2 separate regions of the Homo sapiens genome follow, and region 1 is linked to region 2. Evidence: promoter capture Hi-C in 16 types of primary human blood cells and fetal thymus (Javierre and others, 2016). All regions are on one chromosome and are shown on one strand. The core of a region is centred on a gene start or on the middle of the fragment in contact, and the rest is flanking DNA. Distances in the headings are between cores, read along the strand shown.

Region 1 (3,356 bases), core at 525-3,024, 420 kb before region 2:
GCAGGAGAATCATTTGAACCTGGGAGGCGGAGGTTACGGTGAGCTGAGATCACGCCATTGCACTCCAGCCTGGGCGACAAGAGCAAAACTCCATCTCAAAGAAAAAAAAAAAAATAGAGTGGTCCCCCCTTATTTATGGTTTTACTTTCTATGGTTTCAGTTACCCACAGTCAACTGAAAATATTAAATGGAAAAGTCCAGAAATAGTTACAAAGTTTTTAAATTGTATGCCATTCTGAGTAGCATGATTAAATTTCAGGCTGGGCTCGGTGGCTCATGTCTGTAATCCCAACACTTTGGGAGGCCGAGGCGAGCAGATCACTTGAGATCAGGAGGTCAAGACCAGCCTGGTCAACATGGTAAAACCCCATCTCCATTAAAAATACAAAGCTAGCCAGGAGTGGTAGTGTGCACCTGTAGTCCCAGGTACTCGGGAGGCTGAGGCAGTAGAATTGCTTGAACCTGAGAGGCAGAGGTTGCAGTGAGCCAAGATCACACCACTGCACTCTAACATGAGTGACACAGTGAGATTCTGTCTCAAAAACATAAATAAATAAAAAATTTCATGTTGTCCGCTCCATCCCACCCTTTGTCCAAAGTATCCACACTGCAAATGCTACCCACCCATTAGTCACTTAGTAGCCATTGTGGCCATCAGATGAAAAAGCGTAGTATATCTAGGGTTTGGTACTATCCATGGTTTCAGGCATCCACTAGGGGACTTGGAATGTATCTCCTGAGGATAAGGGGGGACTACTAGAGTCATAAATCTCATATCATTCTTATATTCCTTTTTTCTTCTTGAACTTGTGTTTCTATTCCATTTCTCTATAGAATTTTGTTTCTATTCCATTTCTCTATAGAATTGTATTCTAGTGTAAAATATTTTTATAAAGTCTTTATGGATCATCTTGTCATACTTCTCTGCAACAAAAATATGTATATAAATTAAAAATTTTGGCCAGGCATGGTGGCTCATGCCTGTATAATACCAGCACTTTGGGAGGCTGAGGTGGGCGGATCACTTGAGGTCAGGAATTTGAGACCAGCCTGGCCAAAATGGTGAAACCCCGTCTCTACTAAAAATATAAAAATTAGCTAGGTGTGTTGGTGGGCACCTGTAATTCCAGCTACTTAGGAGGCTGAGGTGAGAGAATCACTTGAACCTGGGAGATGGAGGTTGCAGTGAGCTGAGATCACACCACTGCACTCCAGCCTGGATGACAGAGTGAGATTCCAAAAAAAAAAAAAAAAAAAAGTTATCTTTACAATGATGAGCTCACAATTGCCCAGACAACATAAATATATTAAAATGTTCATACAAGGCCAGGGGCAGTGGCTCACGCCCGTAAGCCCAGCACTTTGGGAGGCCAAGGTGGGTGGATCACCTGAGGTCAGGAGTTCGAGACCAGCCTGGTCAACTCGGTGAAACCCTGTCTCTACTAAAAGTACAAAAATTAGCTGGGCGAGCGCCTGTAATCCCAGCTACTGTAATCCCAGCTACTCAGGAGTCTGAGGCAGGAGAATCATTTGAACCCAGGAGGCAGAAGTTGCAGTGAGCCGAGATCACACCACTGCACTCCAGCCTGGACAACAAGAGCGAAACTCCATCTCAAAAATAATAATAATAAATAAAATAAAATAAAATGTTCATACAAAATTATTATTATTATTATTATTATTATTATTATTATTGAGACAGGGTCTCACTCGGTTGTGCAGGCTAGAGTGCATTGGTACGATCCTGGCTCACTACAGCCTTGACCTTCTGGGCTCAAGTGATCCTTACACCTCCGCTTCCTGAGTATCTGGAACTACAGGCCCCCACCACCATGCCCAGCTAATTTTTTGGTGGGGGGATGGTGGGGGCAGCAAATTTTTTAATTTTTTAATTTTTTTTTTGGAGATGGAGTTTCACTCTGTCGCCCAGGCTGGAGTGCAGTGCTGCAATCTTGGCTCATGGCAACCTCTGCCTCCCAGGTTCAAGCAATTCTCCTGCCTCAACCTCCCAAGTAGCCGGGACCACTGGCACATGCCGCCACGCCCGGCTAATTTTTTGTATTTTAGTAGAGACTGGGTTTTACCATGTTGCCCAGGCTGGTCTCGAACTCCTGAGCTGAGCTCAGGCAATCCACCTGCCTCGGCCTCCCAGAGTGCTAGGATTACAGGCGTGAGCCACTGGACCCGGCCTAATTTTTTAATTTTTTTGTAGAGTTGGAGTCTCACTGTTTTGCCCAAGCTGGTCTTGAACACCTGGGCTCAAGCAGTCCTCCTGCCTCAGCCTTTCAAAGTGCTGGGATTGAGGCATGAGCTACTGTTCCTGGCCCAAATTTTTTTTTTTATTTTTTTGAGATGGCGTCTCGCTCTGTTGCCCAGGCTGGATTACAGTGGTGTGATCTCAGCTCACTGTAAACTCCGCCTCCCGGGTTCAGGCGATTCTTGTGCCTCAGCCTCCCAAGTAGCTGGGATTACAGGTGCATGCCACCATGCCCAGCTAATTTTTGTATTTTTAGTAGAGACAGGGTTTCACCCAGTTGGCCAGGCTGGTCTCGAACTCCTGGCCTCAAGTGATCCACCCAACTCGGTTTCCCAAAGTGCTGGGATTACAGAGGTGAGCCACCACACCTGGCCAAATTATTTTATAGAAGTAAATTTTATTGCATATACAGAAGCATCTATGACATGGATAGGTTTTGTTTTGTTTAGATTTTTCTAATTAGGACAGGTAAGCATAAATTAATATTGTTTATTACTGTAACAAGGGAGAGTTTAATGCCAGTTCTGTTTCTGCTTTTTGTTTTCATGCTGAGAAACCTTGTTCTCATAAATAAGTAGATGGGAGTGGAAAGGATTTTGTTAAAACAGGAATTTTAAAAATTTCTTCTGGCCAGGTGTGGTGGCTTGTGCCTGTAATCCCAGCACTTTGGGAGGCCGAAGCAGGCAGATCACTTGAGGCCAGAAGTTTGAGACCAGCCTGGACAACATGGTGAAACCCCATCTCTACTGAAAATACAGCAATTAGCCAGGCGTGGTGGCTCATGCCTGTAATCCCAGCTACTTGGGAGCTGAGGTAGGAGAATCGTTTGAACCTGGGAGGAGGAGGTTGCAGTGAGCCGAGATTGCACCACTGTACTCCAGCCTGGGCAACAGAGCGAGACTCCATCTAAAAAAACAAACAAAAAAATCCTTCTGAATTATATGCCAAGAACCAAGGTGTTCTGTCATCAAAATTGATTTTTTATGTGTGAATTGACAACTTGCTAAAGTCCCCCAACTTTGTTGTTTCTAAAGAATTGGAAACCATTTGAGAGGAGCTATTGTAAGAGGGGACTTCAGCCTTGATCATTAGCCGTCAG
Region 2 (3,607 bases), core at 1,041-3,540:
TTCTCCTGCCTAAGCCTACTGTGTAGCTGGGATTACAGGCATGCACCACCACGCCTGGAATTTTTGCATTTTTAGTAGAGACAAGGTTTTACCATGTTGGCCAGGCTGGTCTCGAATTCCTGACCTCAGGTGATACACCTGTCTCAGCCTCCCAAAGTGCCAAGATTACAAGCATGAGCCACCTAGCCTAGCCCATTATTTTTTTTTTTTTTTTTTTTTTTTAGGAGATGGGATCTAGCTCTCTAGATCCCATCACCCAGGCTTCAGTGCAGCAGGGTGATCATGGCTCACTGCAGCCTTGAATTCCTAGTCTCAAGCGATCCTCCCACCTCGGCCTCCCAAATACAGACTGTACCACCACAACTGGCTATTTTATTTTTTGTAGAGATGGGGGTCTCATCTTGTTGCCCAGGCTGGTCTCAAACTCCTGGGCTCAAGCAGTCTTCCCACTTCGGCCTCCCAAAATGCTGGGATTACTGGTGTGAGCTACTGCACCGGCCATGATAGATTTTGTGATCTTGGAGTGATCTGATATGTAAGTGGAAGGTTTAAGAAAACTACAAAACTACAAAATGAAAAATATTCCCTTCCATGGAGATAAATGGTGCTGATGGTTGCACAGCAGTGTAAATGCACTTAGCGCCACTGAATTGTACACTTAAAAATGGTTAACGTGGTAAACCTTACATATATTTTACCATAATAAAAGAATCAGTGAGCAAACTTTTAAAAAATGTTCTCTTTGAGTGGATAAAGAAAATGTGGTGTGTGTGTGTGTATATATATATATATATATATGGGAATATTACTCAGCCATGAAAGGAAATGAAGTACGGATGCATGCTCCAAAGTGAATGAACCTTGAAAACATGCTAAGTGGAAAAAAAAAAACACAGACACTGAATGTCACATATGATATGGTTCCCTTTCTATTAAGTATCCAGAATAGGTAAATCCACAGGGACAGGAAGCAGAAGGTTGGTGGTGGGGGGAATAGGATTGACTGCTTAATGGTTATGGGGTTTTCTTTGCGGGTAATGAAGATGTTTAGCACGTAGACAGAGGTGGTGTTTGCACAATGTGCATGTCTAAATGCCATTAAATCACACATTTTAAAATGGTTAATTTTATGCTATGGGAATTTCACCTCGACTTAATATATACTCAATCCCGTCCAGCCGACACACCTTTGGCTCAGGCCTAGGCCACTCTGCCATCTGCCAAGTGTGGCTTGTGTAACAGACAACTTCTCTGGGCCTCAAAGAGGGTGAAGAAATCCATCCTCCCCACAGGGGTATCTCCAGAATCCAACGAGATGAAGTGAGGTGAAAGCGCTCTGAAGGGCAGGAAGCTCTGCTGACACAAAATGTTTACCCATAACACGTGGCTTAGAGTCCCTTACCCTCTAGCTTGGCGGGAGAGAGAAGTCTGCTCTCCCTACCCCACGCCCCATCCCCTGCTCATCCCCTGCCAGCCACCCACCACACCCTTCACGCAGAGAAGTATAGAGCCACAGGGGGAGGGCGCCATTCTCTCTCTCCCTCCCTACTCAGGAATCTCCCTGAAGCTTTGACAAAGCCCCCTTGACACCCCGCATTCAATCTTATTTTTATTTTTTTTTATTAACTCTGTCACCTAGGCTGGAGTGCAGTGACCTGATCTCAGCTCACTGCAACCTCCGCCTCCTGGGCTCAAGCGATTCTCCTGCCTCAGCCTCTCAAAATGCTGGAATTACAGGCGTGAGCCACCATGCCCAGCCATTCAATCTTTTCTTTCCCAGATTCTCACCTCCAATCACAAGATGAAGGCAGGGAGCTCACAGCCCTGTGAGGGGCTGGGGAGAATGGCAGGGGTGGGCCAGAGTTATTAAAAGCCCAACTGATGTTCAGATTTATTTTGACCCTCCCCTATACCCCCACATCCAATTTCACTCTAGTAGGAATCAAGACAGGGGAGAGAGGGATTCCAAGCTGACTTAGGGAGAGGAAAATACATACATACGTAAAGCATTTGCCACAGGCCCCACCTGAGCTAAGCACTTTCCCTCCCTCAACAGCTCCTTTAATTCTCAAAGCATCCCTTTTAGTAGATAATAGACCCCACTTTGCAGAGGAGAGCACTGAGGCTGAGGAAAGAGGTAAATTCATTCAGCGGGTGAGGGAGGAGCTGGGATTTTAATGCTGGCAGTATGACCTCCCCGCCACTGGCACACCGGGTCTTTTGCTGGGACATCCCCTGTAACCGGATTGGGGGAATGCAGGAAAAACCCCATCCCTCCCTACAGAGCCTCAGCAGTGACAGCTACTTCCCGGATGAGAAGGGCGGCCGTGAAGCCAGCAGGGAAGCCAGCCCCACAGCCAAGGGCCCCCCAGCCTCCTCACAGCTCCCCATAGCCTGGACCTGCCGGCCCTCCCTCCAGGACCGAGGGGCTCCCAAGGGAAACTCAGGTGAGTGTCGCCCTCTCCCAGGGAAGATGGGAATCAGGGCTTGGAGACAACTGGCTATCCTGCATGATCCACAGGTTTTCCTAGGGATGAATCAGATTGTGTGGTGTGCGTGTGTGTGTGTGTGTTCCACACTCACGGTCCAAATAACAAGACAGAAAAAGAGCAATAAAGATCTGTGCAAAAGGGCTGAGGAATGAAGTGCCAGGAGAGAGGTGGAGGTTGGAGACCACCTAGGAATGGTGGGTGTGGGGGGATTGAGGGGGTTGTTGAGGGGGAACTGGCTGGGGGTGGGGAGAAATGTTGGTGGACACCAACAGTCCTGGCCTCTTCCAGCTGAAACCCCTTAAGAAAGTATCTCTGCTCTTGGGTCAGAGCTAGCAAGTGAGTTGTGTATTATTTATTCACAGTTTGAAAGCTAAACTTCCCTTTCTTGCCTTAGCCCCAGAATCTTTCCCCAAAGCCCCCGACTCCCTCTGGCCTCTACCTTGAGGACACAAGGCTCTCGAGGTCTGCTTTCCCTTCCAACCCTCCCTTCATCCCAATAGGCGTGTGCTGGTCCCAATGTCAGTGAAACCCAGCTGGGGGCCTGGCCCCTCGGAGGGGGTCACCGCAGTGCCTACCAGTGACCTTGGAGAGATCCACAACTGGACCGAGCTGCTTGACCTCTTCAACCACACTTTGTCTGAGTGCCACGTGGAGCTCAGCCAGAGCACCAAGCGCGTGGTCCTCTTTGCCCTCTACCTGGCCATGTTTGTGGTTGGGCTGGTGGAGAACCTCCTGGTGATATGCGTCAACTGGCGCGGCTCAGGCCGGGCAGGGCTGATGAACCTCTACATCCTCAACATGGCCATCGCGGACCTGGGCATTGTCCTGTCTCTGCCCGTGTGGATGCTGGAGGTCACGCTGGACTACACCTGGCTCTGGGGCAGCTTCTCCTGCCGCTTCACTCACTACTTCTACTTTGTCAACATGTATAGCAGCATCTTCTTCCTGGTGTGCCTCAGTGTCGACCGCTATGTCACCCTCACCAGCGCCTCCCCCTCCTGGCAGCGTTACCAGCACCGAGTGCGGCGGGCCATGTGTGCAGGCATCTGGGTCCTCTCGGCCATCATCCCGCTGCCTGAGGTGGTCCACATCCAGCTGGTGGAGGGCCCTGAGCC

Evidence for each region. The method cuts DNA at HindIII sites, captures the fragments that hold promoters and counts their contacts. A CHiCAGO score of 5 or more calls a contact.
Region 1: a fragment that was not itself captured here is called in contact with the fragment with the promoter of ACKR5 in region 2 in 1 of 17 cell types (total B cells); the score reaches 5.2 in total B cells.

The regions. Positions count from the first base shown.
Region 1 is chr12:56,575,798-56,579,153 of GRCh38, forward strand. The region is part of intron 5 of RBMS2 (RNA binding motif single stranded interacting protein 2); the gene reads left to right. Among named protein-coding and RNA genes, the nearest start is that of BAZ2A, 53 kb to the right of the region's middle. The HindIII fragment of the contact is 8,053 bases long and covers 1-3,356 here.
Region 2 is chr12:56,992,202-56,995,808 of GRCh38, forward strand. It overlaps ACKR5 (atypical chemokine receptor 5), which reads left to right and starts at 2,291. Exons shown (of 2, transcript NM_007264.4): 1 at 2,291-2,447; 2 at 2,993-3,607. The coding sequence starts at 3,009. LOC124902945 (a long non-coding RNA gene) reads right to left here and starts at 3,193. Exons shown (of 4, transcript XR_007063333.1): 1 at 3,068-3,193; 2 at 1,188-1,353. The HindIII fragment of the contact is 5,398 bases long and covers 1,566-3,607 here.